Regions from separate parts of the Homo sapiens genome. Here all the other regions are linked to region 1. Evidence: promoter capture Hi-C in human tissues and cell types (Jung and others, 2019). All regions are on one chromosome and are shown on one strand. Each heading gives the region's core, a stretch centred on a gene start or on the middle of the fragment in contact. The rest is flanking DNA. Distances are from core to core; before and after follow the strand shown.

What was found. The method cuts DNA at HindIII sites, captures the fragments that hold promoters and counts their contacts. A contact is called where the count stands out against the background at its distance.
Region 2: a contact is called between a fragment that was not itself captured here and the fragment with the promoter of NTRK3 in region 1, in 1 of the 25 tissues and cell types used here (dorsolateral prefrontal cortex).
Region 3: a contact is called between a fragment that was not itself captured here and the fragment with the promoter of NTRK3 in region 1, in 1 of the 25 tissues and cell types used here (dorsolateral prefrontal cortex).

What each region holds. Positions count from the first base shown.
Region 1 is chr15:88,254,850-88,258,361 of GRCh38, forward strand. NTRK3 (neurotrophic receptor tyrosine kinase 3) reads right to left here and starts at 1,890. Exons shown (of 20, transcript NM_001012338.3): 1 at 1,795-1,890; 2 at 1,435-1,637; 3 at 1,057-1,319. The coding sequence starts at 1,304. The region is part of intron 1 of NTRK3-AS1 (NTRK3 antisense RNA 1); the gene reads left to right. RefSeq lists enhancers at 34-571, 572-1,108, 3,449-3,512. The HindIII fragment of the contact is 6,423 bases long and covers 1-3,512 here.
Region 2 is chr15:86,849,630-86,853,141 of GRCh38, forward strand. All of the region lies in intron 22 of AGBL1 (AGBL carboxypeptidase 1), which reads left to right. Among named protein-coding and RNA genes, the nearest start is that of AGBL1-AS1, 530 kb to the left of the region's middle. The HindIII fragment of the contact is 6,895 bases long and covers 1-3,512 here.
Region 3 is chr15:86,865,890-86,869,401 of GRCh38, forward strand. All of the region lies in intron 22 of AGBL1 (AGBL carboxypeptidase 1), which reads left to right. Among named protein-coding and RNA genes, the nearest start is that of AGBL1-AS1, 550 kb to the left of the region's middle. The HindIII fragment of the contact is 3,305 bases long and covers 1-3,178 here.

The DNA of each region.
Region 1 (3,512 bases), core at 640-3,139:
AGTATGGTCCACACCCTTCTCCAGGGTGGTAGGTTAGGAAGGGGTCACCTGGCCGAGGTCAACGAAAGAAAAGAGGAGCAGACTCTCCAGTCCCCAGCCCTCGATCTGTCCTCTCCTTTGCGTCTGCTGCCATCCCCACCAAAGAAAAATAGCAAGGAGAAAAGAGCAGGCCACCACTGGTCTCCCTCGGAGGGGGCAGAACCAAGCAAAAGCCAGCCAGAGTTGAATGTTCCAAATGAACCGATCCGCACGATCACACAAGAAACCCCTCTCCTCAAAACACACGCCCTCTCCTCTCCCTGCGCCATCCTGACTCGGAATAGTTCCGAGCAGTTATCAAAGCCCAAACTGGGAAGGGATCTGTAGGCGCCCAGATGCAGATGAGGGTGGCAAAGGGGTGTCTCGGAAATGCCCAAAATGGGGCTGGAGAGGGCGGGCTGCAGGAGGGGAAGGGAAGAGGTAGGCGTCCATGACGGCCTCCACACGTCCAAAGTCTCCCCGCGAGCAGCCAGCTCGCAACTTGTTTACTTGTCAGCATGTTTTGCTGTTTCCAAATGGAAATAGTTAAACACCTCGGCTGGATCGCGAGCAGTCCCTATCTGTCACCTTCCCTGCCGGCTAAGCGCTGCCGCCGCTGCCACCGCCGCTGCCGCCTCTGCCAAAGAATCGAACCTCGTCTACTTTATTCCACTTGAGCGTGGCCAAACTGTTGCTATTTAGTGGGGAGCAAAAAAAAACAATTTGCACCATCGAAACGAGCCAGCAACTGGTTGGGAGGCGGGCGGTAGCTGGGCCCCGCGTGCCCTCGGCGGCCGGGGTCCTCTCCGGGGAGAGGCACACACACGCATAGCCGGATCGCGCCTCGCCAGGGCCGGAGTCACCTGGAATGCGCAGCCGGAGAGCATCTCCCGAGCCAGAGCGAGCCTGACGCGCGCCCAGCGGGCGGCGGGCAGCGGCGAGCTGGGGCGGGCGGAGGGCCGGCTCCCGGCCGCGGGTGGGCAGGAGGGAGACGCAGAGCGCGGGGGAGGCAGGCTGGGGAGCGGCCGCCTGACTTACATGGAAGTGATATTCCTTGAGATGTCCGTGATGTTGATACTGGCGTTCCCATTGCTGTTCCCTGAATCCTGCCCTTCCAGGAGGGGGAAGAGGTTCCCATCGTCCGGCCGCCGGCAATTGATCTCAGTCTTGCTGCAGACACAATTTGCAGGGCAAGCCAGCACGGAGCCCACATAGTCCAGCCAGACGCTTCCCAGCAAGAAAATCCGCCAGAAACTACACTTGGCTGGGCAAAGAGAGACATCCATCTCCGATCGCTGCTTCTAAAAAAGAGGAGGAGGAGAGGAGAGGGGGGTGGGGTGGGGGGAGTGGGGAGAGCAGGGGGGGAAGGAAACAAAGACGGCGAGGGAGGGGGGAAGGGGGAGGGGGGGCCTCTGCCTTTGAAACGCCGAGCGATCAGATGCAAAATCCTTCAGCGTCTGAAACCATCGCGGACGCCGCCGCCGCCGCCGCCGCCGCCGGGTGGGAGCCGCGAGGAGCGCCTAGTGGCGCGGTCTGCCGGGCATGGTGGCCGGCTCGGCGATCGCTGACTCGCCGGGTCCGGGGGCTCTGGAAGCGAGGCGCGCTCTCCGACTCCGAGACTTTGCAGGGTTGCAACAGACGGTGGGGAGGCAAAAAAAAAAAAGGAAAAGGAAAAAATGGTGCTAAAGTCACCAAGTCCCACCTACTGGGCAGAATTAAAACGGACACACCACGCACCTGCAAAACACACACACTCACTCTCACACATACACACACCCGGAGCCCGAGGAAAGGAAGAGAAGGAAGATGCAGTAGGAGCTGCAGCAGCCGCCGCGAATGGCTCGCCGCGCGGCTGCAGAAATGTACAAGTGCTCCGAGCCTTACGAAACGCACGGGTTATCGGAGCGTCTTCCTCGGCTCCCTCCCTCCCTTCCTCCCTCCCTCCTCCCCTCCCTCGTCGCGGCCTCCTCCCCCCGCCCCCCGCCCGGGCTGGGAGCGGCAGGAGAGCGGAATCTCCCCCTCCCTCCCCTCCCCACACCCGTCTCTCTCCCCGCCTGTCCTCTCCCTCCTCCCCACCCACCCACCCACCCACTCGCCGGCTCGCGGCTGTAGCCGGCACCGCCACCCGCAGCCTCGCGGCAGCCCGCCCGCTCCACGCCTCGCAGCGCGGCGCCCGCTAGCCGCAGCCCGGGGGAAACCGAGACCGAAGGGAAAAAGTTGCATTTGAGATTGCGAGGGTCGGGGCTGGGGAGGGAGAGTTGGCGAGCTGGCTGCACGACACGGAAAGGCGCTCTCCTTTCCACTTTTTGGCCCTCGCGCTACCCGGTTTTGCTGCAATCCGGACCGCGGTAGGAAGTGAAATGAACGTGGCGGAGGTGATTGGGGAGTGCTCCCAAGCCTTGGGTGGGGGGCGCTCCCAAGCCTGGGTGGGTGGGGGGCGCAGGCTCACGGACGGCGACGGGGGGTGCCGGAGCGCACAGACACCCCAGAGAAGCACCCAGAGCCGGGGACCGGGACCGCAGACGCGCAGTCCTTGGTCTGAATGACACTCATTTCCGTAATCTAGAGTCTGGGGCTCTGGTCTTGGCTGGGAGGGGACTGCGGGACATGGCACGCTAGGTGCCCCCCGTGCCCGCTGCGCTTTCTTGGAGGTGGGTTTTGCATTCGGCCTTGAGCAGGCATGGATCGGGGAAGGAAGAAACAGGGGTCGAAAGGGCTGCGCTGGAGAGCCGAGGTGGCCCCGGGCGAGCTGTGCGTGCAAGAGAAATGGCCGGGGGAAATTGAGATGCAAGGGGCATATTTTGGCAAGCGCCACGCCAGCACCGTCAGAGGCCGGCTTCTCGGGCTCAGCTCTCGGGTGAGCTGAGCTGGCTGCCGGGTGAGGGGGCGGGCGGGCTGCTTTCTCCGGATTCGGGGGCGCAGAACCTCCTCCTTCCCTCCCACACAAGCACCCCTTCCTGGTAGGGACGCAAAGCAGGTGCAGCTTTCGACGAGAGCTCAGATCTCATCCGGGAAAGAAGTGTGTGTGGGGGGGGCCCCGCTTTTGCGCTGGTAGGGATTTTTTTCTTAATAAAACATAAAGATGCCAAGTGTGAGCTGTTTGCTGAAAAAAAAAAAAACGAGCATTCGCTGTGGGAAAGGAGAAGAAAGGGTTAGGGGAGTCCGAGCAGGCAGACACACTACAGCATTCACACGCAGAAGAAAGCAGGGTTCTCCTTCCCGAGCTTGGAGGAGGGCAGGCGAGGAAGCAAAATACATTGAATTCAATTCAACTGCATCCAGTATCTGAAAGGAGTCTCCCCCGCCCCCCTGTGGATTCCGATGCAGGTCATGCAACTTGCAGGCAAGATGGGGGAAGGGGTATGCCGGTGTCACCGCCTGCCCCAGGCGCAACCACAAACAGGCCGGTCGCCTTCGGGTGGCACTGTCGCTTGGAGTAAAAACTTGGACGAAAAAAATGGAAGAAAAGAACATGCCTATACAAGGCAGTTTTC
Region 2 (3,512 bases), core at 533-3,032, 1.4 Mb before region 1:
TGGAATTATATCTAGAATAGAGAGAGTAGCAGCTCTGGCCAGTTTCTTTCACAGGCTCCAGAAGTGACAGGCATGGCACAGATTATGCCAGGCTTAGTATCTGTGCTCCGCAGGGGCGATTCCCATTAGCTTCTGTGCCCAGATCCTCATCCTAGGCAGCGTGTGCTGGGTAGCATTCAGGACAGCAAGGTTCTCCTGCCTCAGCAACACTGTGCTTGCTTTAGAAACAGAGTGAGTAAGGCCTCTGTCGACATCACGCTTTAATTTTAATGAGAAGTCATAGAAGGAGCTGGTCTTTTTGGTCTTTTACAATTTGGAAAATAAGAAAAAAATTGTTAATCTTTCCATTCCTATGCTGTTCAGTCATTTTGGCCTAGGAACTTTAATGCTATTGCTTTGTAGTTTCCATTGCATAAAGGTAGTCACCTATGTGCTGGTGTGTTGCTCAATCTCCCTCAACCCAATCGCATTCAATGGAAATGATAAGAGAACTCTGTTCAGCTGTTTCCCATGTGTAAAACACCTATTTAGTGGAGCTGAAATGTACTGATAACTGGGCTCAAAAGGGACAGTCATTTTCAAGGCTTGATAAGTAGCAAGATGTCACATTCTTGCTGCCTTAGGCTATGGACATTACTTATTCATTTCTTCATCCATTATTTTATTAAAAAGTGTCTGTACATGGCATGGATTAAATGTTGGAGAAATTACCAATATGCATTGCTTTATTTGACTTCCCAGTCTTATCTCTGCTCCTGCCCCCTTCCTGTTTTTCACACATTTCCTATAGCACCGACTACATGCCATTTTATAAACAGATCTTTGCCAAAGAACCAAGTACCCAATCGTCCTCACACCATGGGTGCCCCACTGCGCCCACATTGCCTGTCTTTGTTTTGTTTGCTCCTGTTCCAGATAATTCTTTCTGCATCAAAACCCATCTTCCTCCCACCCTCATTTCCTCTGGGCTCTGCCAAACATTCTTATTAACACAGAGAATCATTATTGATAGGGTTACCTAAATTAACCTTGACCATTTCCTTTAACTATAAAATGGGAGTGATAAGAATACCTGTATGATATATTGTTGTATGGCTTAAATGAGATAATAGAAATGCTGAAAAAAATACTTGTCATATAGCAAGTATTTACTTACTATGCTGCATATCATGTAATCATTCCAAAAGCTAAAAAACAAAACAAAACAAAATGAAAAGATAGTTTCCTTCTGGTCAACATTGATAGTAATAGGTAATATTTATATTACTTAGATACTGTGTGAAGCATAATATTTTATTAATTATTGCCATGCCCATTTTATTGATAAAGAAACTGGAGTATAGGAAATCAATAATAATTTTCTGCCATCACTTCTATAATGCATTTGGAGAGGCTTTTTGGTCAATTATTGAAGGGACTGGATTTATAAGTTGCTTTAGACCTTCTGATTAAGGGTGAGTGATGTCACCAATCACAGCAATGGAAAGATCACTTGCTCTTATCCCTTCTAAGTGCTTTCCTGATAGCGTCACCCTCATCTACTATTTTGGGAAAGAGGGCAAGAAGTGGAAGAAAGGAGTGCTGCATATAAAGCCCTGGGAGAAAATTGAAAGCTGGACCTATGGGTTCTCTGATTCCTGAGACTATAAATCTCTAGGATTTGGGGCAGGAACTGATTCTAGCTCAAAACCAAGTCTACTAGAACTGGCTCACTCTGCCCACCTAACCCTGTAGGAGGGGGCTTTAAACAGTTTTGATGGGGGCAAACAGTGAGGACAGAAAGGTCCATCACCTGGTCAAGAACACAGCATCATTGCTCTTCCCTGGGCATTGAGAACAGGAGGTCTGTTTGAAATGGTAAGATATATATCAAACCCATTCAGTGGGCACAACTTTCTGTATCCCCAGAATTTCCTGAAAACATCTTTATTATAAGAGCAAGTTTTTCCAATAAAATCTGCAAAGATTAGTTCTATCTGACTCATGAAACCCGCAAATTCTTCCATCCTCAGAGTCTCTAGAGTGGTAACTAGCTTGATAAATAAAGAATCTGGGCCTAGGCATGGGCAGTAGCAGGAAAGAAAGGCAGGGCATTAACTTGAACCTGGATGGGGAAGGCATGGGGATGGTGAGCAGTGGGGTCCCTGAGAAGTGTGCACACATGAAGGATGCAGGAGATATTCTCCACGAGTTGCTGGAATGGCCAACAGAGATTTGAATTTCATATGGAAAGAGGGAGGTAGTGGGAAGTTCAGACTCATTGTGGTGAATGGTTTTCCTGCAGCAGTGGCAGGTTTTTATTTTTTATTTTTTATTGTTTAGTTGTAAAAAGACGACTGCATCTGTTTTGCTCACCATTGTCATGGCAGCTACTGCAGGGGAACTACTACATAAACACTGTTGGATGGATGAATGGATGGTCCATGTATTCATCCGTATTCACACTGCTATAAATATACTACCCGACACTGAGTAATTTATAAAGGAAAGAGGTTTAATTGGCTCACAGTTCCGCATGGCTGGAGAGGCCTCAGGAAACTTACAATCATGGTGGAAGGGGAAGCAGGCACCTTCTTCACAAGGGGCAGGAGAGAAAGAAGTGCAAGCAGAGAAGATGCCAGACACTTATAAAACCATCAGGTCCTGTGAGAACTCACTCACTATTGTGAGAACAGCATGGGGGAAACTGCTCCCACGATCCAAACACCTCCCTCTCTCCACACACTGAGAGTACATGTCCCTCCTTCGACACATGTGGATTACAATTGGAGATTATATTTGGGTGGGGACACAGAGCCAAACCATATCAGTCCATTTCCTGAGAGTCTCCTAAATCACTTTACGACATCCCCTGCTATCTGGAAACTCTATTCTGATCCACCTGCAAGCCCCCAGACACTATATAGATTATGTGACTTAACACTGAAGCTGATCTCCCAATGCCTCTTTTTGCAAGGTACATTATCTTCATTTAAAAATATCCTTCCTACATTCCTTGAGGGGTTCTAAATGCCCCAGGGCTTTTTTCACTGAGCAGGCCTATGGCTGGTTACCCCAGGTCAACATGTAATGGAGGGCTCAACAAGCCATCCTGTGAACCTCTTTCCTGGAAGCAGGGAAGAGGAATGAGGCAGGCTGCTATGGAGTAGATCCCTTATCTCCTACCTAGAAGGCATCTTGCCTATTGCAAAGGTTTGAAGCAGTGGCTCTCAGGCCTGGTTGCATATTAGAATCAACTGGGGAACTTTTAAAGTGCACAGACTTCACCCTGGACCATTTAAATCAGAATCTCTGGGCACGAGGCTCAGGCTTCGTTGTTTTTAAAGCTTCCCAGGTGAATCATTTGTGGTCAGAGTTGAAAGCCAATGAGTTTTTGTTCTTCAACTCTGCTGCAATTAGAATCACATGGGAAAGTTCCAAAAAAAATCTCAAAGCCCAGGCCACACCCCATGCCAATTAAATCACAATATCTGGGGTGGGGCCAAGGCATCAGAATTCTGACAACTCCCCAG
Region 3 (3,512 bases), core at 276-2,775, 1.4 Mb before region 1:
GAGAAGATTAAATGAGTTAATGCATATGAAGTGTTTAGTTCTAGGTCTGGCATATAACCAAGTGCTTGGTATCTTTTAGCTGTTATCATTATCATTTTCATTATCATTCTAACATCCAGATGACCTTGCCTCAGCCATCTTTCCCTTCCCCCCAAGTTGCACTGTAAGAAACATCTTTGTCATCTACTCTGCCATTCTTTTTGGCTCCCTTCTAAATTCTCAAACCACAATTTCCTTTCATCATAACTCTGAATATAAAAATAAGATCATTTTTCTTCTCATAACTGGATTATGACTCAAAATAAACATTCCATTGAAGGAATTAGAAAAGTCATCTTGACAAATGAAGGACAATGGGTATTTTAATAGTGACCATTATCATTGCCTATATACCATTTCCTCAGGTACTATTCTTGAATTGTTGGTTGGACTTCAGTTCCATTGATGGCCTGAGCCATATTTACTTCATGTCGCTATGGCATTGATCACACCCTCAAAGGAGGTATGCAAACTGTGATCTTGTTTCTGTGACAAAACCAGGTTGGGGGAATGATGGTTAATACAACAGTCATCTACTTCTTGCATAAGTCTTTCAGAAAACAATTATTGAGCACCTACTCTTTCCCAAAGGAGGCATTTTTCTAGATGCTGGCAAATCAACAATAAATAGAATACTACCTCTGGCCGGGTGTGGTGGCTCAAGCCTGTAATCCCAGCATTTTGGAGGGCTGAGGAAGGCAGATCACTTGAGGTCAGAAGTTCAAGACCAGCCTGGCCAACATGGTAAAACCCCGTCTCTACTAAAAACACAAAAATTAGCTAGGCATGGTGGTACATGCCTGTAGTCCCAGCTACTCAGGGCTGAGGCAGGAGAATTGCTTGAACCTGGGAGGCAGAGGTTGCAGTGAGCTGAGGACAGAGCAAGACTCCATCTCAAGCATTTGTTAAATAGAACTATGCTTAGTCCACTATTTGCCCATCTGACAGAGACTGTAGAAGTCAGAAAAGCTTCCCAGAGAAGAGAGTATCAGTAGAGCATTTGCAAGAATGGATTGAAGTTAGGCAAGATGCAGAACAGAGGTCCCATTTGATTAACTAATGTCTGCAAGGGCATGAGTTGAGATGGTGAGACACTCCTAGGAGACATCTATCATATCAGTGTGGCTGTGGCATGGAGTTTGGGAGTGGAGTGAGTAATGAGGAAGAAGAGGGGTCATGTCATAAACACACTTGCATCTCATGCTGTCAGGACTTAAGCTTTATCCTTTTCTTGGGGGTGGGGGAATTGTATTTCACAATCATAAATGGTAGGTACAATTATAGAACTCATTGAAGGTTTACTCAGCCCTCATTTTTTTTCTTTACCCACGTTGGTCACAGCATAACACTTCCCTCAAAACCACACTTGATGTGCTGGTACTTCAATTTTCCTTTTGCCAAGAGTTGACATTATGCTAACTTTACATTTTACAAATCAACTCACCTACTAGGTAGGAGAGAATAACTTTCTGCGTTTTGTGGTACATGTTTCCACTTACTGCTTGCCCCGAGGATGAGGGATTCTGTATGTGGCAGGAGTGAAAACAACAGTTTTTTTAAAAAATTAAGCATTAAATTACACTGGACGTGTTTAATTTTGTTTTCAGTAATGGGCTTTGATGCTTTGGTGAAGACTCATTGTGTTATACTTGAAATAGAAACATGTCATGTGAGTGAACCTGTGAGGCGGGGAGAACAATAAAATGGCAAAATGCACCCGGACTAGGTGGGGCTTATAGTGCTAGATATTTTAGGCTCAATTTTATTGTTCATGGCACTGTGCAAAAATAAATAGACATTTAAAAGAAGTAGGATATATGTTGGTATGAAAGCAGAGGGAAATCAATTAGCAGCTGTAACTTAAAGCTGAGGAAATGGATAGGATTGACTTTAAAGATCTGAGGTACTAATTTGTCTCCTTAAATGCAAATTTCTAAGTTTATCCATGGCCGTCCAATATACAGATATCCCAATGAACCCAGATTATTTTATAATAGGGAATAAAGGAAATAGCAATCGTTACAGAGAGGTGAGCCCTTATTTTGGTGTTTCATAAATGCCTGAATCCAGATCATATATTGGGGCCATGATCCAAGAGATGTCAGATTGTGTATATTTTACAGTTTTTCAAAATAAGGAATTATCAATGTGGCTAATCCGGTCTGTGAGAGGTCAGGATGTAACATCAGATGAAGTTGAACATCGGTCATCAGGTAGAGTTGAAGACACATGAAACGTACATGAAAAAAAACATGAAAAAATAGGCAAGAAGCAAAGGAACAGCCATGGACGTAGAGTGAAGATGATTTGGTTTAATGGGTCACAAGAAAAGCTTCAAACCCTGTGAGGTCGCCAGAGGACTATTCATATGTGGCACTAACTGTATAGCACAAAGCTTGCATATAGCTAACCAAGCCACACAAGACTGTAACCTCTTGGGTCTTTCTAGATGAGAAGTCTTGTTTATATAGCAATTAGAAAATCCTTTATGACTTTTAGCACCAAGCTAAGGGAATTCTTTCAGGTTTAGTGACTAGAAATCATGGAAGAAATGTCCACTTCCCCACAAGGGTGTTGCACAAGGGACACATTCAACTATCACATAATTCTAAGTACTTTCGAATCTAGTGGTTTAAAACTAGAAATTAATGCTTTAAAAACATAGGCGTGTAAAGCATTCGTGAAGAGGATGTTGTAACGAAATATGACTATCTAGAACGACATTAAACTGATTTCCACTCACCCTGGGAATTCATTAAAGAGAAAATCTTCATTCTGTGACTTCGCACTGTCTGGTTTATATCTGGGCTTATGTCCAACAAAACTACTAAAAAGTAAGGCCTGTGAACCACTAGTAGATATTGGTGGGGTGACAGAAATTAATGGAATTGTGACATGCAACATGTTGAAAAAATAAAAAGCAATCTCAAAATTGGAAAAAAATAGAATAGAAACAACGGGTATGAATTAAACTGCCTGTGCTTTTAGTAGAAGATAATGAAAGAAAGTGGCACGTCCACCTTGGCTTACAGCTAGGACATTCCCAATTCAAGGCCTTTAAATCAACAGCTTCAAGGACCAAGCAAAGGCATCATTTTGAAAGAATTTTTAGGGCATTTATATACTAGCTGTCAACTGCCTTGGTGGCAGGGTGATAAATGCTTCTGAATTTGAGTTAAGCAGACTAAACTCTATGAAACTGTGCTTGCACAACTGATAAACTGTCTAATGGTCAATTCTCCAAAATTCCCACTGGGTAAGACAGAGAGGTGTGTCAGGGGAAAAGCTAGCATGGAGGTGGGAGATAGAGACACAAGTATGCAAAAGCCACCCCCCACCGTGTCTTCCCAGTGGTCCACGTGATGCCCACCCCTGAATGCACAATGGCACAGCTGCTCCCACCCACCACAGAGAATCCAGCTGCAGGTCTCTCCTCCTCTCTGCCTCAGAGCCGCTCAACATCCTTGGATTAA